Linked DNA regions of Homo sapiens: all the other regions are linked to region 2. The links are contacts of gene promoters, found by promoter capture Hi-C in blood cells and fetal thymus (Javierre and others, 2016). All regions are on one chromosome and are shown on one strand. The core of a region is centred on a gene start or on the middle of the fragment in contact, and the rest is flanking DNA. Distances in the headings are between cores, read along the strand shown. Region 1 overlaps TGM4 (transglutaminase 4). Region 2 holds the start of ZNF852 (zinc finger protein 852). Region 3 overlaps ZDHHC3 (zDHHC palmitoyltransferase 3). Region 4 overlaps ZDHHC3 (zDHHC palmitoyltransferase 3). Region 5 overlaps TGM4 (transglutaminase 4). Region 6 overlaps EXOSC7 (exosome component 7).

What was found. Contacts are between HindIII fragments. The CHiCAGO score rates a contact against its expected background, and 5 or more counts as called.
Region 1: a contact is called between a fragment that was not itself captured here and the fragment with the promoter of ZNF852 in region 2, in 15 of 17 cell types (naive CD8 T cells, total CD4 T cells, activated CD4 T cells and 12 more). The highest score is 17.1, in naive CD8 T cells.
Region 3: a fragment that was not itself captured here is called in contact with the fragment with the promoter of ZNF852 in region 2 in 1 of 17 cell types (total CD4 T cells); the score reaches 6.7 in total CD4 T cells.
Region 4: a contact is called between a fragment that was not itself captured here and the fragment with the promoter of ZNF852 in region 2, in 4 of 17 cell types (total CD8 T cells, naive CD8 T cells, non-activated CD4 T cells and 1 more). The highest score is 5.8, in total CD8 T cells.
Region 5: a contact is called between a fragment that was not itself captured here and the fragment with the promoter of ZNF852 in region 2, in 8 of 17 cell types (activated CD4 T cells, naive CD8 T cells, non-activated CD4 T cells and 5 more). The highest score is 7.8, in activated CD4 T cells.
Region 6: a fragment that was not itself captured here is called in contact with the fragment with the promoter of ZNF852 in region 2 in 2 of 17 cell types (total B cells and non-activated CD4 T cells); the score reaches 5.2 in total B cells.

What each region holds. Positions count from the first base shown.
Region 1 is chr3:44,910,226-44,913,958 of GRCh38, forward strand. TGM4 (transglutaminase 4) reads left to right here. Exons shown (of 14, transcript NM_003241.4): 11 at 1-143; 12 at 733-902; 13 at 1,045-1,181; 14 at 3,359-3,733. The coding sequence ends at 3,500. Among named protein-coding and RNA genes, the nearest start is that of TGM4, 37 kb to the left of the region's middle. The HindIII fragment of the contact is 3,807 bases long and covers 540-3,733 here.
Region 2 is chr3:44,509,227-44,512,970 of GRCh38, forward strand. It overlaps ZNF852 (zinc finger protein 852), which reads right to left and starts at 1,391. Exons shown (of 4, transcript NM_001423469.1): 1 at 1,327-1,391. RefSeq lists enhancers at 774-1,550, 1,551-2,327, 1,786-1,845 and silencers at 1,156-1,315, 1,326-1,385, 1,516-1,565. The HindIII fragment of the contact is 19,774 bases long and covers 1-3,744 here.
Region 3 is chr3:44,931,475-44,935,063 of GRCh38, forward strand. It overlaps ZDHHC3 (zDHHC palmitoyltransferase 3), which reads right to left. Exons shown (of 7, transcript NM_001135179.2): 4 at 2,414-2,510; 5 at 1,644-1,725. Among named protein-coding and RNA genes, the nearest start is that of ZDHHC3, 43 kb to the right of the region's middle. RefSeq lists an enhancer at 2,289-3,116. The HindIII fragment of the contact is 2,602 bases long and covers 931-3,532 here.
Region 4 is chr3:44,948,838-44,952,797 of GRCh38, forward strand. The region is part of intron 2 of ZDHHC3 (zDHHC palmitoyltransferase 3); the gene reads right to left. Among named protein-coding and RNA genes, the nearest start is that of ZDHHC3, 25 kb to the right of the region's middle. The HindIII fragment of the contact is 254 bases long and covers 2,097-2,350 here.
Region 5 is chr3:44,881,033-44,884,907 of GRCh38, forward strand. The region is part of intron 1 of TGM4 (transglutaminase 4); the gene reads left to right. Among named protein-coding and RNA genes, the nearest start is that of TGM4, 8.4 kb to the left of the region's middle. RefSeq lists an enhancer at 2,862-3,539. The HindIII fragment of the contact is 1,286 bases long and covers 635-1,920 here.
Region 6 is chr3:44,979,796-44,983,673 of GRCh38, forward strand. The region is part of intron 1 of EXOSC7 (exosome component 7); the gene reads left to right. Among named protein-coding and RNA genes, the nearest start is that of EXOSC7, 5.5 kb to the left of the region's middle. The HindIII fragment of the contact is 1,694 bases long and covers 894-2,587 here.

The DNA.
Region 1 (3,733 bases), core at 1,193-3,692, 400 kb after region 2:
TAATTTCACCGTGATTCTTAAAAGGAAGACCGCTGCCCTACAGAATGTCAACATCTTGGGCTCCTTTGAACTACAGTTGTACACTGGCAAGAAGATGGCAAAACTGTGTGACCTCAATAAGACCTCGCAGATCCAAGGTCAAGGTACCAGAACCAGAGGGAGGAGAGGCCTCAAGTGGGCTCAGGGTCCCACAATCTGAAATCCCTCTTCTCCTCTGTGGACAACTTCCATACATTGATAAATTTTTGTGTGTGAGTTAACACAAACATTTATTGAGCACCTACCCCTTGGTAGTCACAAGAAAGCCAGCCACAGAAGAAAAGTGAGCCAAAGAGACCACTGGACTAGGAGCCTGGGTCTATCGTAGAGTTATAAATTAGGGGTGCTGAAAGTGTCATGAGAAGTCTTCTATGGTGGCAGAAATTTTAATCTCAGATGCCCAGTCAGATCAATGATTATGAGTACCCAAGGCACAGTGTTGGGAACAAGTGGGATGTCCTGATGACAACGGGTAATGTCTGTCATGGACTCAGGATGTAAGCTTGGAGAACTTGGCCAATTATTATTCCATCTTGAGCCCAACGTCTTGTTTTCTAAAGAGAGTATGGGACATGTCCAAAGTTATCCAGTTCAATTCACACAAAGTTAATCTAATTCTGTGCTTGATGAGGAGAACTCATACTGGGGGGGTATGATGAATGACCTCTCCCCTCCACCCTGACTCTTTGGCAGTATCAGAAGTGACTCTGACCTTGGACTCCAAGACCTACATCAACAGCCTGGCTATATTAGATGATGAGCCAGTTATCAGAGGTTTCATCATTGCGGAAATTGTGGAGTCTAAGGAAATCATGGCCTCTGAAGTATTCACGTCTTTCCAGTACCCTGAGTTCTCTATAGAGGTGAGCTTCCTGCAGGCCATAAAGGGCTCCTTCTGCCTGGAAGTTGGCCATGGAGTGTGACGGGGCCCCTAAGAACCCTGAGGGTCCTTGGTTGGCTCATGCATATCTTCTCTCCCCATCTCTCCTCCCCACCCTACTACAGTTGCCTAACACAGGCAGAATTGGCCAGCTACTTGTCTGCAATTGTATCTTCAAGAATACCCTGGCCATCCCTTTGACTGACGTCAAGTTCTCTTTGGAAAGCCTGGGCATCTCCTCACTACAGACCTCTGACCATGGGTGAGTCTGCCTGAGGTATTCTTAGAAATATGCTTCTGGACATATATCTTGCACATGTGTGCATATTCCTGAGAAGTGAATTCCCAGTATGGGGTCACAGGGTCAAAATGTAGATACATTTTGCTAGTGCCAAATTACTTTGAGAAAAGATTGCATCAATTTATGCTCTACCGACAGATCTTTTTGATTCTTGCCAATCTAGTGGTTAAGTAATCTCATTGCTTTACTTTGCATCTGATTATTTGTGAGGTTGAATATTTCTTACATTAATTGACTCTCTCCTGTGAATTGCCTGTTCCTAACTTTTGTCCATTTTTCTACTGAGTCATTTATTTTTTCATATTGGTATGGTGTCTTTACACAGTAGAGTGTTATGTGCTGTGAATTTTTTTATAGCAGTTTTGTATTCAATTTTTTAAATTTGATTCTTATTTATTTTGAGGTGGAGTCTCACTTTGTTGCCCAGGCTGGAGTGCAGTGACACGATCTTGGCTCACTGCAATCTCCATCCGTCCCCAGGTTCAAGTGATTCTCCTGCCTTGGCCTCCTGAGTAGCTGGGATTACAGGCATATGCCACCACACCCGGCTAATTTTTGTATTTTTAGTAGAAACGGGGTTTCCCCATATTGGCCAGCCTGGTCTTGAACTCCTGACCTCAGGTGATCTGCCCGCCTTGGCCTCCCAAAGTGCTGGGATTACAGGCATGGGCCATCATGCCCGGCCGAACAGTTTGTATTTTTTTAAACACTAAGATGTCTTTCACCAGTAGAACTTTTAAATTTTAATGTAGTCAAATTTTTCAATCTTTTCCTTTACGGATACTGAATTTCATGTCATCCTAGGTGCATAGAAATATTCTCTTATGCTTTTTCTAGAATTTCCAGCTTTATTTACACAATTAGGTATTTATCTGGAATTTTTTTTGGGTGTGGAGTGATGTGGAGCTCCAACTTTGTCTGTGGTTTTCCTAGTACTTTGTAGCACTGCCTTTATTATGCTGTCAATTCCCATATATATCTGGGTCTCTGGACTCTTTAATTTGCTATTTCATTTGTCTTCTTCTAATATAACATCATACCACTTAAATTATTGTAGTCCTATAATAATTTTATATGATTATCATATCTACATATTGATATGTATTAGGCAAATCCCCACCCCACCCCCATTTTTGTCTATAGCACTTTTAGAATCATCTTGTCATATAATTTTAAAACAGCTGGGATTTAGATTGATACTGCATTGAATTTACCTATTTATTTGGGGGAGAATTATGCCAAATGACAATATTGTGTCTTGCCATCTAGGAATATGAGATTTTCCCATTTTTTTCCAGTCTTTTTTATCACCTTTAGAAAAGCTATATTGTTTTCTTTATATACCACTTGCACGTTATTAGTTGGGTTAATTCCAAGATGCATCAATATTATAGCTTTTATGAATGGAATATTTTTCATTGTATTTTCTAATTGTTTGCTGGACTATATGGAAATTGATTTTTGGCATGCTGATATATCCAGCAAAAAACTTTACTGAACTCTAATGTTTTGTTTCTGAGAGGTTTCTGATGGTCTGTTTCTTACAGGATGTCTGAATCTTCCAAGTAAAAATGAGTAGACTCCTATTTTCCTTAGACCACGATTTATCACATTTTAATGTGCACACAAATTACCTGGGGAGTATTGTTACAGTGTAGATTCTGATTCAGCAGGTTTAGGGTGGAGCCTCAGATTCTGTGTTTCCTACAAGCTCAGCTAGTATTGCGAAGCCCCAGAACACACTTTGAGTAGTGAGGGGCTAGCCAATTCCTTGCATGTGGATTCAACATAAAATACATGTTCCTCTTAGATTTTATGTAATAGATGACTGTTGCTAATACTCATGAAACAAGAACATCTGTAGTAAAGTCAGGCAAGACTCCAGGGAAGATTTGTGAAATGTCAGAGTTGGAAGAGCTTCTGGAAACCAGCTGGTTCACCCGTCTTGCTTTACATCTGAGAAAACTGATAGCAGCACCCAGGGTGCAGGTACACTGTGCCATGCCCTGGAATGGCCAGGACTTTTCAAAGAGGCTGAGCTAAGGCTCAGTTTCCTGGCTTCTCACCCAACTCATCTTCTCCCTCTTCCCATAACATCCTTGGCTGATTGTATGTCCGTATGTCTTTGAATTTTCCAGGACGGTGCAGCCTGGTGAGACCATCCAATCCCAAATAAAATGCACCCCAATAAAAACTGGACCCAAGAAATTTATCGTCAAGTTAAGTTCCAAACAAGTGAAAGAGATTAATGCTCAGAAGATTGTTCTCATCACCAAGTAGCCTTGTCTGATGCTGTGGAGCCTTAGTTGAGATTTCAGCATTTCCTACCTTGTGCTTAGCTTTCAGATTATGGATGATTAAATTTGATGACTTATATGAGGGCAGATTCAAGAGCCAGCAGGTCAAAAAGGCCAACACAACCATAAGCAGCCAGACCCACAAGGCCAGGTCCTGTGCTATCACAGGGTCACCTCTTTTACAGTTAGAAACACCAGCCGAGGCCACAGAATCCC
Region 2 (3,744 bases), core at 141-2,640:
AGACATATTCCTTACGCTACAGGAATTTAACTTGTAAGAATCTGCCCTGAAAAACACTTGCACGGGTATTCAGACATTTACACAGGTATTTACTAAAATATTCTCTGTAATAACATAATACTGGATTTAACCTACTTGTCCATCAATATGGCTAAATAAAAGTAGCATTTTTATAGGATGAAATACCATACAGCACCTAAAAGGAACATACTAGATCCTTATGCATCACCATGACTGTTCCACTATTCACCAGGTGGCCAGGCTGTGCTGCCAAGATTAAAAGGCCATCCAAGGAAGGGATAGCACATGATTTGAGGTCGCTGAGGACAGATACCAACCACATCAGGCCCCAAGAGGTACAGCGTATACTTACAGCAAAAGGAGAAACAGGGAACAAGATCCAGCCTCCTGCAATGCAAAGAGCCCCCACACCCAGCAGATCCACTCCACAGCTATAGGGCTGGTGTGATGCACACACCCCACTTAGTAAGGAAGAAAGATCTCAATCCACCCTCCCCACTCCTATGGGGTGTGAAATACAGAAGGCTGAGAGAATGAATGAAGGCCACTGACTTAAGAGATTAAACACAACAAAGGAGTACACATGAAGCCTGAAACACTGAAAGACACAAGGCATTAAATGCAGCAGCACAGGCTGTGAGGGCTCTAACTCTGCAAGGAAATGTTCCAGGCTCAAGGTCACTCTTACATTCTTAACTTGGCAATGGGCTATTTAAAAAAAAAAAAAAGACATTAAAAACTGTCAATTCTTCTTGTCTCCCAGTTTAGATATTCCTTCTTTCATTAATTTAACAAACACCTTCTAGGAGCACCTACTATTTCCCATACACTAAGGTAACAGCAGTTAATAAAGCAAACAGAAAGCACTGCCCTGGCAAGGGGCTTATGGGAAGATAACCAATAAACAAATACATGCTATGTTAGACGGCGACAGGTGCCAGGAAGTGAAATAAGACAAGAAAAAGGGAGAAGTCTATGCCAGATGTTTTCAATGTCAGGAGACCTGGAGACTAAGATTTCCGGACGGTGGCTACTTTCACTTTTCTTCCACTTATCTAATTGTCTCTAATAAGTACGCTTTATTCGCATAATTGGGTGAAAAGATAAAGCCAGAAGAAACCGGGAATTTTCCAGATTCTCTGCCCCAGACGCCCGGGGGGCGAAGAGGTATGCCCTCGGCGCGGCCGGGCGGGATCCACGGCCAGACCCCCGCCCCGGGTGCAGCCTCCAGGCCCGGCCTCACCTGCCACTCTCGCACGCACAGCCGCCCCCGCTCCGCACCCCGCGCCCCGCCGGGCCGCTCACCGACTCCGCCGCCGAGAGACAATCATCCAAACGCCGCCACCGCAGCCGACCGCCCCGCGCCTACCTCCCAGCTTCCCCAGTTGCGCACGCGCGTCGCCTCCCCGGGCCCTCTGCGGCCTCTCTAGGAAACTGGGAGGGCCAACATCTCTGCTTCTCCCTGGGCCCAGGGCCGCTGGCGGCGGGCGGCGGGCGGCGGGCGGCGGGCGGCGGGCGGCGGGCGGCGGGGCTTGTCCAGCATCCTTCGCCTCCTTCCGCGGACACTTGTCTTCCACGCTCTGATGCCCAGGCGCGCTCCAGAACTCTATCGGCTTTGGCGTATTATCCTACATCCCTCCCATCGGTTCTGCACGGCTGCCCTGGAGGCCTCTTTTCCTTCAGGGAAGAAAGGGATCCAAAGCTAGCGGTGAAAATAGAGCCAGCGGCCTGGCGCGGTGGCTCACGCCTGTAATCCCAGAACTTTGGGAAGCCGAGGTGGGCGGATCACGAGGTCAGGAGATCGGTGGCTAACACGGTGAAACCCCGTGTCTACTAAAAATAAAAAAAAAGTAGCTGGGTGTGGTGGCGCGGCGCCTGTAATCGCAGCTACTTCGGCGGCTGAGGCAGGAGAATCGTTTGAACCTGGGAGGCGGAGGTTGCAGTGAGCCGAGATCGTGCCACTGCACTCCAGCCTGGGAGACAGAGCCAGACTCCGTCTCAAAAAACAAACAAACAAAAAAATAGGGCCAGCACATCCCCAAACATAAAACCCTTGAATGGAGAAATTCCCAAACAAGGCAATAAGCCCAGCACTGGCCGTGAGAGTTTATTATCCCCTTTTAAGTAAATGCTACAAGCCCTAGGCGCACTTTTGCAACTGTTCAAGGGTCATCAGGCTGCACATGACTGACCAAGACACTCAGTTGCCCACTTTGGATGGAGCTACAGCTTTGTGGGAAAAACAGATAATAGAAATTACACAAATACATCAATGTCAAGTGGTTACGAACACTGTTGAAATGTAACAGAGTTATTTAATTGACAGCGACTGATGATAATGCTTGTATTTTTTCTGGTACTTTTCTGTATACTTCCGGTAGCTCATAACACACTGGCTGCCATGCATTGATTTGAGTTGCCCAAGGAAATAGAGTCAGTAACTGGAATAGCCACTGAATCCAAATCTTTTGGTCTTTTCACTACTGTGCTTCATAAAAGCTCTCCCGTCCCACGTCCCTGTAGAGGGAGAGTTGGGGATAGCATGGCTCCTAGCTGAGATCCCAGAAGCTAGGGGTAGAAGGTTGTGGGCAGGATAGTGAGGAGGGCAAGATTCCAAGGAAAACTAAAATCCCTGCCCAGGAACGGTTACCACCTGGGAAAGCAGGAATGACCCAACGCATCAAGGCCCAGAGTGTACTCAAAGAACAACAGGTTAGGATGAGGGTCAAAACTCAGACCAGAAAGAGCATTAGCTGAGCTTGGTGGTGCACGCCTGTAGTCCTAGCTACTGTGGAGGCAGAGGCGGAAGGATCGCTTGGGCCGGGGAGGTCGAGGCTGCAGTGAGCTATGATTGGGGCAGTGTACTCCAGCTTGGGCGACAGAGCGAGACCCAAGGAAGGAAGGGAGGAAGGGAGGGAGGGAAGTGAGAAAGAGAGAAAAGGAATGAAAGAGAGAAGGAAGAAAGAGAGAGAACGAGAAAGAGCAGGCTGCTTCTTGGGCTACAACCTGGAGAGGCTGTGTAACATTATGAGTTGGAGAAGCAGGTACAAAATAGTAAAAACTTCTATAAAGTAGACTAACAGCATGTGGCAGAACAGTGGGTTTTTAAAGGTGGGAACAAGAGAACCAAACAATAGCAAAAATAGATTGATTAACATCAGGTTACTTTTCTTTTAAGGATTAAAGCAGAGGGGGCCTTCCTTATGCTGACTGGGGTTAACTGGGCCCTTTCTGAATGGTTGCTATGAATCTCCTGTTTGCAGGAAAAACTGGTCTGTTAGGGGATTCACATACTTCTATAAAATTTCAGTTTGATTATGTGGCATTTAGCATTAGGAATTCCTTCATTTATTTATTTATTTATTTTGAGACGGAGCCTCCCTCTGTCACCCAGGCTGGAGGGCAGTGGTGTGATCTCGGCTCACTGCAACCTCCGCCTCCCCTCCTGGGTTCAAGTGATTCTCCTGCCTCAGCCACCCAGTAATTGGGACCACAGACACAGGCCACCATCCCCAGCTAATTTTTGCATTTTTAGTAGAGCCAGGATTTGTCATGTCTGCCAGGCTGATCTCGAACTCCTGACCTCAGGTGATCTGCCCACCTCGGCCTCCCACAAGTGCTAGGATTACAGGTGTGAGCCACAGCGCCCAGCCTTATTTATAATTATTTATTTATTTATTTATTTTGAGATGGAGTCTCACTCTGTCACCCAGGCTGTAGTGC
Region 3 (3,589 bases), core at 982-3,481, 420 kb after region 2:
AACTCAAAGTGCCCTAATCCTGGGGGACAGCCCTCTGCCCCCACTCACACCAGCTCCTATGGCCCAACAGCTCCACCAGGGCTGAGCAGTGAGGGCAGTAATGGTCATATACAGTCAACTCTCAGGCCTCAACTTTGGGTACTGACCTGTGCCTTCCCAGCCTAGCTGCCATAGAAGCTGGGTGCCTGAAGCTCACTCCATCAGGAATTTTGACCACAGTTAATCAAGAGCATGGCTGGGAGGACCCTGACCACTGGAGTCAACCAGACAGGGCTAAAAATCTTGCTCCAGACCTAGGCTTGAACTACAGACCCTCTTGTTAGCTGAGTGATCCTGGAAACTTGTTCATCCTCTGTGAGCCACAGCTTTTGTCATCTGCAAAGTGGGAAGCATCTCTCCTACCTTGCAGGCTTGTTATAAGGGCGAAACAATGCACTGCTCAAAAAGCCCTTTGGGCCATTCCTGGCTCCCAGTAGGCATTAATGCAATGGTGCCTTCCAGCACCATTACAACAACAGGGACATTTTGCCTCACTGACAGTCTGTGCTACCCCTATCACCTGCCCAAGTCTGTTAACTTGACGAGAGGTGGGAGGTGTTTGGGATGATAAAATATCCTAATTGGACTCCCTTGTCAAGTAACCAAGGCCACATCTGGAGTAGATCTGGTTCCCCAGGCCTAGCAGAAGGCATGTACTTCAGAATGCTCACCAAGTGATCAGGAACTTGCTGGCGACTCACCTAGATATGCAGAATGGCAAGTTCTGCACATACCCACTCACCCCTACCCTCCTCTCCTATCTCTATTGTCTGCTGGCTTGACCTCTGCCATTTGACTTATGCCAGAATTGTGGGAAGAAGTCAGCATGTATAGGAAGAGCAAAAGTTCTAAAGACAGTGAAATAAAAAAAAGGAGGCCCATGGAGGGAAAAGCTTAGGAAATACAATGTTCCTTGCTCAAGACGTTTGTCTCACAGATTGTGAGTATGAAAGAGCCAGCCCAGCAGGTGGCCTCTTATTTCTTTTCCTCCAGCATCTATTGTTTTCCTTCAGGATCTGTGCAATCTTCTGGCTGGAGTTTCTCCCTCAGTATTTGCACATTTCAGTGGGAAGCCTCTAAAGCAGGAAGAATTATCTACAATCTTAATGTAAATTCACGATTATCAGTGTAAGCAGTTAAAAAACACCATCACAAAAACCAAAGAAATTAATAAAGAAACTCCATGTCCTAGCCAGAAAGTAAAAAATGAATCTCTGCAAGACTGGAATAAAATGATCTTTGATTTAAGTGCCTCATGGAAAGACAGAAAACAAAACTTCTCTCCCAGCATGGCTCCCACGCATTGGAACCGGCCTCTGTGCTTGCTTGGGGCCTGCATTCTCCCTGGGCACGCTCAGTCCAGAGGGTCTGTCTGTCCAACTCATGACTTTACCTGTCGAACTGAAGTTAAGGGGCTGCATTTTTTCATGAAGAGAGATTCCAGTCTCTGCCATTTCTTCCCTGTTCAGTCCATAGGCTTTCAGGAGATTTAATAAAATGAGGTTGGCCCCTGGCACCATGAAGGAAACAAAGAGCCTCCCCGCCCCCCACTCAGGTCACACACCCACCCTGGAGCAGGGAGGAAAGCCTCAGCACATACTCACTTGTCCAATCTTCTTCAAAGCAATGCAGGAAGTGGAATCCCACCATGATGAGGGCGTGCAAGGAAATGAGAGCTATGTACATCTGAAACAGGAAACCAGTGCAGACACCATTGTTGTGAGAATCCTCTGACCTCACGGGCTCCCGGGACAGGGGCACTCAGAATTTGCCACTCAGGAACACTTAGTCAGGACAAGGCCTGACCAGGAGGGACCAGAGGGCCAGCTAGCGATTCCCTACAGATCCGTCTACCCACCAGCCCTGGGTCAAGTGAGCAGCCACCTCCGGGAGTACGTGGAACCAGAACAGAAGCAAGCCCGTCACCAGGCATGACCTGGGCTCCAGGCAGTATGAGCTGCCTGGGCGGGGGGTTCAAGCCTGCTGTACCTCCTCCCTTGAAAAGCCAGGGTGCTGACTGCTGAGGGCCCTTCTAGTCCTTGCACTAAGTAGACTCCACCTACCTGCACCTCAGGATTTGAGGTCATCACCCAAACTGCCTTCTTGAGCTACTTAGGTCCAACACTTGGAATGGGAGCCCAGAATACAGCCCTTGCTCATAGCTAATCAACTGAAATCAATTTTCTAAACGCTCAAGTGAAGGGCTTAGGTACAGGCACTTGTTGAGCCAGAGAGATCTTTGGCAGGAAGGCAGAGATCTACAGGGCCAGGCAGTATTCTGAGCAAAGAACATCGTGAATGCTGAGAATTTTCAAAGGAACAAAGTGCTCCATTGCTTCATGGGGGGCAGGGCAGAATTTGCAAGCTGACTTACTGTAAACAGGACGAAGTACTTCTGGTTGTTCTCGCCTACACAGTTGTTGACCCAGGGACAGTGGTGGTCCATCTTCCGAATGCACCGCTTACAAACACTGAAACAGCCCACAGGTCAGACCTTTAGGGCATCCCCATGGTGTTGGGAGGGCCCCGGGGGAACGCAGAACCCATGGCTCCTGCTCCACTCCTCTGAAATGGCTTCCTTGGGCACTGCCAGGGGTTTTGCTGGGTGTGTGTCACGTGGGGCTTGGGAGGCAGGGTCAGGACCCCAGGGGTGGCAGTCATTCCAAACGGGTACAGAGTCATTCTCCAAAGCCCCTTAGCTTAACACATACATAGGACGGAACTGACATGGTTACATGGCTAAGATAGAACCTGCTCTCCTGAAGTAATGGGGCTTACGATTTGGTTTCCCGAGAGAAAAAGAATGAAGCAGTTTCAAAAACTTGACCAAGTGGGCTAAGATTTGGAGAATGGCTGCTACCTATTTCCCCAAAAGACCAAACCACCAAGGGATGGGTGGAAGTTCTAGAAGCACTATGAGGTGCTACCAGGGAGGGCCAGGTACCTCCACCATGGAAGGACAAAGGACAGAAGAGAGGGCTATTTCAGAGCAAGGTCAAGGACAGCAGGAGGCCCAGCTCCAAGAACTTTTTGGCTCTAAGATGACATCCATTTAGCCAAAAAAAAAAAAAAAAAAAGCAAGCAAGCAGAAAAGTCATTTGAGTCCAGGCGCAGTGGCCTGTAATCCCGGCACTTTGCGAAGCTGAGATGGGCAGATCATCTGAGGTCAGGAGTTTAAGACCAGCCTGACGAACATGGCGAAACCCCATCTCTACTAAAAATACAAGAATTAGCTGGGTGTGGTGGTGCATGCCTGTAATCCCAGCTACTCGGGAGGCTGAGGCAGGAGAATCACTTGAACCCAGAAGGCAGAGGTTGCAGTAAGCTAAGATCGTGCCACTGCACCCTAGCCTGGACAACAAGAGCAAAACTCTGTCTCCAAAAAAAAAAAAAAAAAAAAAAAGTCATTTGAGCTTAACTGTCGACCAGATCAGTTCATTAATTTGCACATTTCTAACATTATTGGGATAATTTTTGGGCTGAGCCTGTTTCAAGCTTATTTGATAGCAAGCACAAACCCGCTCCCCCTTTGGACAATTCAAAGTAATAA
Region 4 (3,960 bases), core at 974-3,473, 440 kb after region 2:
CAGTGAGGACCTATTCACTCCTGAGATGGGCAGCACTTGGCTGACCTGTCATTCAGAGCAATGACGTGCTTCCCCACTGAGGATGAGGAGCCAAAGGCTCACAAGGAGCAGGAGACAAGGAGGCAATGAGAAAGTCTGAAGGAACACTTGTCCACATGCAAGCGCACCTCAGTGCTGCAGGCTCAGACTGAGAGTGGGGTGGAAATGAGGTCCTTTATACTCTTTCAACTCTCTAAAGCATTTCATTACTTTTTTTTTTTAAGTTAAAACAGTAGAAAAAAAATCTGGTCTGCAAAATGTAGTCAGATGTCAGAAAAGCCTATGACAGAAAGTTCAAAAGCAAACACATTTTGGTGGGCAAGGACCACATGGTATCTACAATACCAGTTAGAATACCGTTTTGGACATTAAATATGCTATAAAAATACACAATTATTGACACAGGAAACATCTATAACAGATTTTATATACATATACACATACATATAAATAAGAAAAAAGAAAAAAAATGTGTGGTGGTACATGTCTGTAATCTTAGCTACTTGGGAGGCCAAGGTGGGAGGATAGCTTGAGGCCAAGAGTTTGAGAGCAGCCTGGGCAACATAGTGAGACCCTATGTAGGAGGATCACAGGTACTTTTAATTTTCTTGACTATATTTATGAAATATTCTATTAGAAACAAGTGGCTTTTGCAAAGAGGAAATGATCCATTAAAAACAAGCAAAACAAAAACAAAAACAAAAACTTGAGGAGCCACCCAAAGTAGGAATATGATCAACTTTCCTGAGGCTTGTAACCAAAATGTCATTATTGTCTCACCTTGAGACATCCAACGGGCCACCAGTGAGGCACTGTGAAGGGCCAGGGTCTGGAAGGTTTCATGAAGGTGAGGCAGGGCCCAGACCACATGGCATAAGTGGATTTCCAAGGGGGCCTGGGAAGGGCACTGGTCCAGGCAGAGGACAGGGTCTCAAGCCCAAAGGGCCTTATTTTTCATTATTTTTTCTTTTTTTTTTGAAACAGGGTCTTGCTCTGTTGCCCAGGCTGGAGTGCAGTAGCACGATCTCAGCTCACTGCAGCTTTGACCTTCCAGGCTTAGGTGATCCTCCCACCTCAGCCGCCCAAGTAGCTGGAACTACCGGCACAAGCCACCATGTCCAGCTAATTACAAAAATTTTTTAGAGACAGGGTCTCACTATGTTGCCCAGGCTGGTCTTGAACTCCTGGACTCAAGCGATCCTCCTGCCTTGGCCTTCTGAAGTGCTGGGATTACAGGGGTGTGAGCCATTGTCCCCAGCTGTGTTCTCTTTCATGTAAAAAGTAATTGAGTTTGGGCAACTGTGTGGATCCTAAAACCAGAAAACCACAACTAGAAGTTACTATTGTCATGTGTATAAGAGAAAAAGTGCAAAGGGACATCCTTTCCCCCAAGGACATGAAGCAACGAGGCTTGAGTTTTCCTAAATTATGGCCCAGGTGGTTTTTTTGTTTAGTCCCAGTTTTTAAGAAGGTCCCAGCCACCAGAATGTACTGTAAGCCCCAGGGGACCCTGTATAAAAGACTGCAAGAGGAAACCTCTAACCCATAAAAGGGAATCAGAGCTCTTGTTTGGTATTCTCATTACGGCCTATTTATTCCAGACCTTGAGTAGAGACATCATTCAGCAGCTCAGCCTTTCTAAACATGTGCCCCCACAATGAGACTCCATTTGCATAAATCTCCCAAAAGGCCCATCTCCATTCAGGCAGGGCCCCACCCATCCAACCACCTGAGCCCACCTCTCAGAGCCAGAGAGCAGCTGGGCCAGCCCCCAAGACTGAGGAGTCTGATGCATACACTTTCCAGTCTCTGCCTCAGGCAACTTTTTGTTTCATTCTTTTTTAAAATGCATATTATGCTCTTTTGGGCTCATCTCCACAGATTTCAGAGCTCTTTGTTATTAGTTCATGGTAAGGAACTTTGTTCTTTACAATCCTGGACAGACAGCAGGAGATTGAAGGCCTGAGACATTTTTGTCACTGCTGTCATGCTTGCATTACTGAGAAATGCCTATCCCCCTACCCCACGTTCTTACACACTCCACAGGGATGTCTTGAAGCTTCCACACTGCTGCAAGCCTAGCAGGTCAAAATGCACTGACTTTATCTCTCTCATTTCCAAAGTAATACTTGTTCATGGTTTTAAGAAAGAAAATACAGATGAAAAAGTGGAAAAGGAAAAATTCACTCTGATTTGATCACCCAAGACAAGTACTACCAACATTCTGAAACATATTCTTAAAGTCTTTTCTCTTTGTACTAAAGTAAAAACACTTTAAAAAATCTATAGGCTCATAAAAAGCAGATCACAAAGCTTCCAAAATATACATTTGGCCCCACAGTGGAACCAATTTAAATCTGTTTTAAAATAAGTGTGTAGAAGCTGTTAAAGCTTTTCTGCTCTAGTCATGGCAGAACTCCTTCCACATTCTCTGCACAGAGCTCTGAGTTTTCAGTGCAGAAGGAACATAATGGTACTTGTATGTGCACCTGTGTGTATTTAGGGGTGGGGTAGGGTGTGATGTGCCTCCATCAGCCATTCCCCTTAGTAGGTAGCCCAAACTTCTAGTACCTTCCTTGACCCCTGCCCACTTCCTTTTCTATTTTGGAGCAAATTAAGGCTGCTAGGGTTAAATCCTTCTCATATTCCTCATCTCACTGCCTCACTGTCCCTGGACTCACGGGTACCCACTGTCTTGGAAGATGAGGCTCAAGTCAATCCTGGCCCTCAGGGCCCCCATACCATTACCTCCAAGCTTTCTCCTTGTGTTCTTAGCAGGCTCTGAGCTCTCCCTGCCCTTTCATAGCTAAGCTGCTTGAAGCCTTGTGCACCTGATGTCTCTGCTGACCTCTCCCTTACTGTTCATGCACCTGTCCCCTCCATACCAGGGAACTGTTCGCACCAGGTCACTGAGCAACTCACTGTGGCCAAATCCAAAAGTCAATTCTTAGCCCTTGTCTTCCTTGGGGTCTCCTCACTGTCCTTCTCCCTGTCTGTGGGGCTGTGCCTCTCCCCTCCTCTTGGAATCCCGCCCATCCAGGCTACTGGTGTTCCTCAGGGTTCAGGGTTTCACCCCAAGACTCCTTCCTTCCCTGCTCATTCTGCACTCTCTCCTGAACAATCTTCAACTCTACTTCCACCATCACTCGGTGATAATGCTCCAATCACAAGCTCCAACTCAGACCTCTTGAATCTGCAGATCTCTCTATTTGGCTGTCCCAAAGGCACTGTGCACAGCTAAAACGGAACCTGCTGCTTTCTCCCCAAACTGTTCCCTCAAGTCTCCCTTTCCTGGCCCATGGCATATCCATGTACCCTGTCACCTGGGGTAGAAATCCAGTAACCACCACCAATTCCTCTAATCCTCTTCCCCACATCCCATTCACTCCACCAGGTTAATTCTGCCTCAGACTGTGCCTTGAATCCCATGCTCTCCCCTCCATGCCATCATCATGCCTTAGTTCAGCCCATCATCATCTGCCCCAGACTATTAGAGCATCTCCCAGGTCTTCCTGCCTCTAGTCTCTCCCTCAAATCCTGCAACCCACTTCTATCCTTTCTCCCAACTAATTTCCAGAGTAAACTTTCTTAAATGGAAATCTGATCACATTATTCCCCTGGCCTAAAACCTTCACTGGCTCCCTAGGGACCATGGACCAGAGTCCAAGCTCCTGGGCAGGGCTCTTGAGGCCACCATATCTCAGCTCTGGACTACCAATCCAGTGCCACCTCCCTCCGTAAACAGTCCCTCCCTGTGGTCTATTTGGAGTTTCCCAAAGGCAACATTCTAAGTTTTCCTTTCTACCCTCAGGGGCTCCATTTAAGCACCAACCAAACCCTCACCCGCTCCAACTTGCCAGGCACCTCCTTGCTTCTAGCACCCAAATTAAAATGCACCCAGGGATCACCTTCTCTGCTACT
Region 5 (3,875 bases), core at 28-2,527, 370 kb after region 2:
CATAGTAAGACTTCATCACCACTATGAAGTGCACTATGGTGCACACCTGTAGTCCCAGCTACTCTGGAGGCTGAAGTGGGAGGATCCCTTGAGCTCAGGAGGTTGTGGCTGCAGTGAGCCGTGTTCACACCACGGCACTCCAGCCTGGGTGACAGAGCAAGGCCCTGTATTAAAAAAAAAAAAATCAAAGTAATCTTAAATAACCTCTCACTATTTTTTGTCCTGATCATTTATTCATTGAGCAGCCTAGAAAAGGTCAGTCCCTTTCTGGGGAAAGCTGTATTTAATAATCAAACTGCCTTACCAGAAGGAAGGAGAAGGAAATTGTATTAGTTTATTTTCTGTTGCTTATAAAAGAATACCTAAAACTCAGGTAATTTATAAAGAAAAGAAATTCATTTATTACAGTTATGGAGGCTGAGACTCCAAGGTCGAGGAGCTGCATCTGGTGAGGGCCTTCTTCCTAGCGAGGACTCCCTGAGGAGTCCCAAGGTGGTGCTGGGCATCACATGGTAAGCTCAGGTCTTCCTCTTCTTATAAAGTCACCAAGATCCTCTTAAGTGCGTTTTTTCTTGTCATTTCAAGAGTCCCACTTGACCCACTCAAAAATATACATACAGACTGGAAAATCATAAGCTTCTAAGGCTGACAATTTCACAAGAGCTCATTAGCAACTAATGCTAATTTTAGTTTAAAAGCAACTTTGCTTTTTAAAACTCCAAAAGTATATCGCCATCTGGAGATTGCTTGTCTTTTATGTTGTCTCCTTTTTTCCAGAGGCTTCATAGGCAAAAGTTATAGCAAAAATTATCCATTGCAGAGACTTTTGTTTTTTAATACTCAAATAATTTAAACTCCAACCCACACATTGGTGGCAAGAAACAAGGACATTGTATTCCACTGACACTTTTTCTTTGCAGGTTTCCCTGGTCATCTTGCATTTATGACACTGCAAGCATTAAACTGGTATATCAATTTTGACCATCTATCCAAGTGCAATAGCTACAAAATAAAAATACAAACGCTTTTTTTTTTTTTTTTTTTTTAGAGTTGAGGTCTCACTTTGTTGCCCAGGCTGGCGTGTTGTGGCTATTCACAGCTGCAATCATAGCTCACTGCAGCCTCAAACTCCTGGGCTCAAGTGATTCTCCCACCTCAGTCTCCCGAGTAACCGGGATTACAGGTATGTGACTCCAAAGGCATTTTTTTAAAGACAGCCCCAGTGTGGCTTCCTGTAGTTCCAGGATTCCTCCAGCCTCCCAGATCTGCCTTAAGCAGTGCTCAGGTCACAGAGCAGTGCCCAGGAGAGGGTGAGGGAGGAGGCTCCAGTACTGGCCATCTGTTATGTGCTGTATGTTGGTTTCTTAGGGCATTCAAATGACCACAAATGAGGCTGCTTAAAACAACAGCAATTTATTATTCTCTCGTTCTGGAAGATAGACATCCAAAATCAAAATGTCCGCAGGGTCCTGCTCTTGCAGAAGCCTCCAGTGGAGAATCTTCCCTTGTCTTTCTTGGTTTCTGGTGGCTCCAGGTGTTCTGTGGCTTGCAGCTGTGTAACTCCAGTCTCTGCCTCCATCTTCACATGACCCTCCCCTTGCCTTTCCATGTCTCTTATAAGGACACTTATTCTTGGATTTAGGTCCTACCTGGATAATCCAGGATAATATAATCACAAGATCCTTAATCACACCTGAAAATCCCCTATTTCTATAAGGTCACATTCATAGGCTCCAGGTGGAGATATCTTCTGTGGGACCACCATTCAACCCACTATATGCCCATCTGCCTAACATTAATGATGGCCTGCATTTTGTCGAGTGCCTACTGTGTGCCAGGCATGTGCCAGGCACTCAATGTGCACACTAGCCACCAAGGGAGGGACTATGTTTACCATTCCAGGGAGATAAGGTCTTAAGAAGCTTCCACAGAGATGACTGCATTTAGGATTTGGATTTCTTAACTGCTCTTTCCTGCTTCCTGGTACCAAAACCTATACCTTTACCCCTTGGGAACCCAGGTCACCCACCTGCCCAGTCCATGGGGGAGCAGGAATAAGTCAGAACATGGGAGGGACTGTTAAAGCCCTTTTCCAGCTGTGATTGCTTTGCGATTGGCTCTGGGTCCCACAGCAGGAGCTCTGCTGTCCAGGGAAATGAAGAAGCCTTTCAGGATTGCAGCTCCTGACAGCATGCTATGGTTTGAATATGTCTCCCCCTAAAATTCAGGGGTTGCCAATGTGGTGATACTAAGAGGTGGGGCCTTTAAGAGTTGATTAGGTGATAAGGGCTTCTTCCCTGTGAATGAGATGAGGTGCCCCTCTAAAGGGACCTGAAGGAGGGAGTTGGTCCTCTCTCGCCCTCTGCCTTCTGCTATGTTACAATGCAGCAAGAGGCCCTCACCAGATGCTAGTGCCTTGATCTTGGACTTCCCAGCCTCCAGAACTGTGAGAAATAAATTTCTATTCTTTCTAAATGACCCAGTCTCAGGTATTCCATAACAGTGGCACAAATGGGCTAAGATGCTCCAGCTAGCCATCGGCCCACCCCAAGGTTTCAGCCCAAGAAGGGGAAGCACCTGGGAAGGTAGGTCTGTCTGCCAGGTGGGCCTCCCTGCTGGAGGCAGCAGGTTCCCAGGCCCTGTGCGCAGTGTGAAGGGAAGGCCACTTGCTGGGACTTGCCTTCCTGGAGAACACTTGTCCAGACCCCAATCCCAAAGCCACTCCAGCAAGAATGAGCTGTGCTGTCTCCAAACACATCACTGGCCGCATCCCCAAGGTAGGCATCTGATGTGGGCGTGACCACTCCACCTATTTTGTAGTCATGAAAGCCCAGTTTCCATGGCTGGCCTCCTTGATCTCTGCAGAGGATGGGTTTCCTCTGTGGGTGAGCCCTCAGGAGCAGAGGAAGGTCCCTGCATCTCACCTCACTTTACCTCACAGGCCACAGCGGGGCTTCCTAATCTAGGGGTTCTCCATATGTGCCTCCCTGGGCCAGCAGCACAGCGTCATCAAGGAAGCTGCTGGAGAGGCAAATTCTCAGCCACACCCCAGATGTGCTGAATCAGAAACTCAGGGTGGGTCTGGCAGTCTGTGTTTTACCATGCCCTCTGCACACTCGAATTGCCTGGAAAGCTTTGAAAACATAGAGGCTCAGCCCCACTCAGAACAATTGTATCAGAATCGCTGGGGGAGAACATAAGTAGTTTTACAACCCCCAGGTGGTTTCAGCATGCAGCCAAAACACATTTCCCTTCATGACTCATGAGCCTGGGAATGGTTTGAATTTTAGATAAAGGGGAGGGGTTTGGGTCTCAAGCTGAGGTAATACGAAATGTCATTATAACAGACACATGGTGAGAAATACATGTGCTACAGAAAAGGGTGTATTATGCATGTGGAGATTATTTCTTTTACTGAATGTACTTTTCACTTTAGCATTGAAGAAAAAAATCCCCTGTTTTTTTTGGGGGGGATGGAGTCTCACTCTGTCACCCATTCTGGAGTGCAGTGGCTTGATCTCGGCTCCTGATCTCAGGTGATGCGCCGCCCCCACAGCCTCCCAAAGTGCTGGGATTAGAGGCGTGAACCACTGCACCTGGCCTTAAAAATCCCATTTATAATGCAAGTAGTCTTGGCCTCAGATCATGGGAGCTCCTTGGTGCTTCCTCCTCAATTTGGATAAAAAGGCTTCACCCCAGCCACTTTGCACCCCACCCTTCTCTTCAGGATGTGAACTCTCACCTCAGGATGGTGTCTGACTTGAAGCTGATGGGAGTCTGGGCTGAACAGGAAGGGGAGCAATCCCAGGGCTCATCTGTTCCCTCCTCAGTTTGCCCGCTCCCCTCTTTCCCTTCAGCTTTTGTGTTGATTGACG
Region 6 (3,878 bases), core at 491-2,990, 470 kb after region 2:
AGGCTCAAACATGGCCACTAGAGGATGTGTCACACTTGGGAGAAGTCAGTTTGTGAGAAGGGAGGGTGGATCATTTTAGTTATTGGCAGAAAATGGAACCCTCTTCAGGTAGTTCAGGAGACTTTTATGATGGGACTCTAGAGCAGTATGGGGGGGGTTTCAGGGAACCAATAAGAGATGTTGAGGAGCCCCAAGACAACTACTGGGAGTGGCTACTGCCCCTATTCCAAAGGGGCCAGGGGAGGAAACAGTATTACCACATTTCAGTGATAGCTGGAACTGTGGAGGAAGGGCTGCCCAACATAAGTCATAGTCTTCGATAGATGCAGGCACTATCAGAAATGTGGCCACTAGATTGGGGGTGAGGGGCACCCTCTGATCTGGTATCTTCCACTGGACAAACCCAACCAGAAGCCAGCAAAGGGAGTCTAGGTGATACAATTTGAGTCAACCTGGTGAACAGATCCCCTCTCCCAGGGGAGAACAGAGAATCAAAAAGGTGGATTAAATCGGTATTTTGATAAATAATTTGATTGGTTTCTGTTAGGTTCTCTTTCAGTCTTTGAAGGCTATATCCCATTCTTATTAGGTACATATTATAATTTTTATTTCATTGAATATTTACAACAGTTCTGAAGGTAAATGTTATCTCTATAGATGAGGAACTGAGCTCGGGCAGGTTGAGTCGCTTGTCAAGGTGACACAGTAATTGAGTGGTGGCACTGGGATTTAAATCCAGACCTGTCTGATTGCAAAGCCCATACTTGACTCTGAGGCCACCTTCCTGCTGCAGTGAAAGTCATTTCTTCCATTTCCTCAGTAGGGATCCAGAGATCAAGGCAGGAGAGAATCTTTGCTTCCTCTACCTCCTTTTCTTTCCCCCTTTCTCTAAAAGCTTGTGGGGAAACTGGAAGGGAAAGAGAAAGTTCTAATTGACACCTCCCACTCCCCAGTTTTTCTAGAGCTTAAATAGTATATGGCATATACTGCTGTATTGTTTTGGTTGCATTTTTCCCACATTGAGTATAAGTTCCTTTAGAACCCTATATTGCATTTCTTTGTATAGCTTTTGTCTTACTAGTATCATAAACGATTTACTCTGCCCATACCATGCAGAACTTGGAGCAGACTTCAGAATTTTTAGAATCTAGGATTTATCCTCTTTTCTGGCTTACTGGGCTAGATGTGTGTTTTCCTCATCCATGAGAAGCCATTGCTAACCTCCCTCTTAGCCCAGGGATTCTGAAGCCTTGAAGTGCATTTTACTCACCTACAAAATACAGATTCTGAGGCTTTACCCCAACATTCTGAATCAGACTCTCTGGGGCTGGGGCCTGAGAATGGACATTATCATAAAGTGTTGGGAAATTTGGGGGCAGCCACCAGACATTGGCCCATGGGTAAGCCACTGACCAGAGATAAAGAAATCTCTGCTCTCTCCTGCTGAAGTCATATGGTTTCCTGCCTCTTTTTGAATGAGGCTTTGGAGTCAGACTGAGCAGGCACCTTCACCATTTACAATAAGTGGTTTTACTTGCATAACTGAACCTGCTTCCCTTGTGTAAAATGGGGACTTATGCACCTGGAAGTAGAATGGGGTTATGAGGAATGATGAGATAAGAGATGTCAAGCACTTGGGCTGTGGTTAACACAGAAAAAATGCTGGCTCCCTTTCAAGTTTGTTTTTCCATCAGAAGTGTGACTTTGTCTTAAACCATCCACACTAGATCCCCAGCCTTCATAGTGACCTCATTAAAGATTCAGCCTGTGGCTCCTGAGAATTAAACCTCTTTTGATTTGAAGGAATCGGGATTTTTCAATTATCTCAAGAAAAGGGATAGGCCAGGTGCAGTGGCTCACACCTGTAATCCCAGCCCTTTGGGAGGCTGAGGTGGGAGGATCACCAGAGGCCAGGAGTTGGCATCCAGTCTGGGCAACATAGCAACACCCTATCTCTAAAAAAAATTAGGTGTGTGGTGGTGTGTGCCTGTAGGCCTAGCTGCTTGGGAGGCTGAGGCCAGAGGATCGCTTGAGCCCAGGAGTTGGAGATTTCACTCCAGCCTGGGTGACAGAGAGATACTCTGTCTCTTAAAAGAAAGAAAAAGAAAAAAGAGAAGGGGGATCTGTGGCAAGAGCTGGAAAGTCCCCAGACAGCTCTGAGGTACCGCCTCTCATGGGCTCCGTGGATTATCTCATGGCCTGTGTGGCTGTCTGTCTTTATCTCTAGTGACATCTCTGCTTTTCTCTGCCAAGATTTATCCCTTCTCTGCAGCCACTTGCTGTCCAGCTTCCCTTCTTTGTAGAATCTGCCTCTGCCCAATACCTTTACTTTCGTGTGGCCTCTCTGGGCTCCTCCATATCATGACCTGTCAGCTCCTCTTTAACTCCTTTCTTCTCTCAAGTGTTTCTCAGATCAGAGACCAGATTGCAATGAGAGAATCAGTTTGGTCTGGTAGTATTTCACGCCAAAAAGAGTTGGTCACCCTTTGGATTATATGCCTTTGGTTCAGGCACCTACCCCTGGTCCTGGCTGTTGGGGATGGATGGTGACTGTTATGTGGCCTTTACAGGGCTTTAGGCACAATAAAGCTTTCCCAGGTTCAGCCTACTGAGTGCTATGGCTATGACCTGGACATTAAACTGGCCCTCATAGGTTCAGACCTGGCCATGGCAATTGACGAACCCTACCACAGGGCTCTTGGAACCCTGTGAAAGCCATTTTATTGTATGTTCTTGGCTGTTGAAGGGAGTTGTAGCCCAGCTGATGGCTTCCATTTCTTTTCTGTGGATCTTGCTTTCATCATAAGCATTGTTTAGGGGTATAGCATGGAAGAGGGAGATCAGGGCCTCAGCCTGGTTTTCAACTATGAGATTGAGCAGTCAGTATTCGGTTGCTCAGTCTGGCCATGACAGAATTGGAGCCAGCCCTCAGGACTCTTGATTTTTAGCTCTCTGCCCTTTCTGTTTACAGACCCATGGCACAGAAAGCCTTATGCCCAGACACTGCAGGATGCAGAGTTATGGAGCCATATCCTTTCAGAGGAATGCCTGGCTACTCAACAGGGTTGGAAAGTCAAACAAGGATCAACACCTACTTTTGCCTGCTGTGTGATGGGCCCGAGCCTGCAAAGCTGGACCAAATGTGGCCCCTTTCCTAAGGGCGGGGGGCAGTCACCTTCTAGTAGGGGAAGGAATTTAGTCTCACTTCTCCTTTAGGAATCTGGAGTATTAGACAAGTCAAAGCAAGTTAATGAGGGGTTAACATAACCTCAGAGGACCACTTTGAGTCTAAAGTCCTTCCAGATGTGTCAGATTGGTAGCGCCAACTTGTCAGTTTCTATTAAGAAGTAATAGGACTGGGCTTCCTGGGTGTGAGGGAAAGTAGGTCTGTGCTTAAATGTCCTTCCACTCTGTCACAAACAGGAGATTGAAACTTAGGTGCCTCCATTCTTATCTGTAACCTCTCTCAGGGTTGTTTTTGAGGATGCAGTGAGTTAATGCATGCCCCCAGAAGCAGGGGAAGGGAACTGCTTTGGGGGGACTCCTATGTGTTACACTGAAGGACTCCTTTAAATGCTTTATGACGTTTCTGTTCTCTTGTAACTCTGTAAGGTCGGGGTTATCCCTGCTTTCTAGATGAAGAAACAGGCTTAGAGCTATTTAGGTCAAGGTCACAAAACTGGCATGTGACAACAGAGATTTAAGTATAATTTGGAAGGTGGCTGTTTCCACCACACCACACCCTACTGGTAGGGTTGTTGTGATCACATGGGTAACAGCTGTGAAAGTCACCAAGAGCTTTCCTGGCATCCAGAAGCCCTTGATCTAGAGGCACATCAGTCTCCTCTGCTGAGAAGGAGGGGACACCACTCCATGCT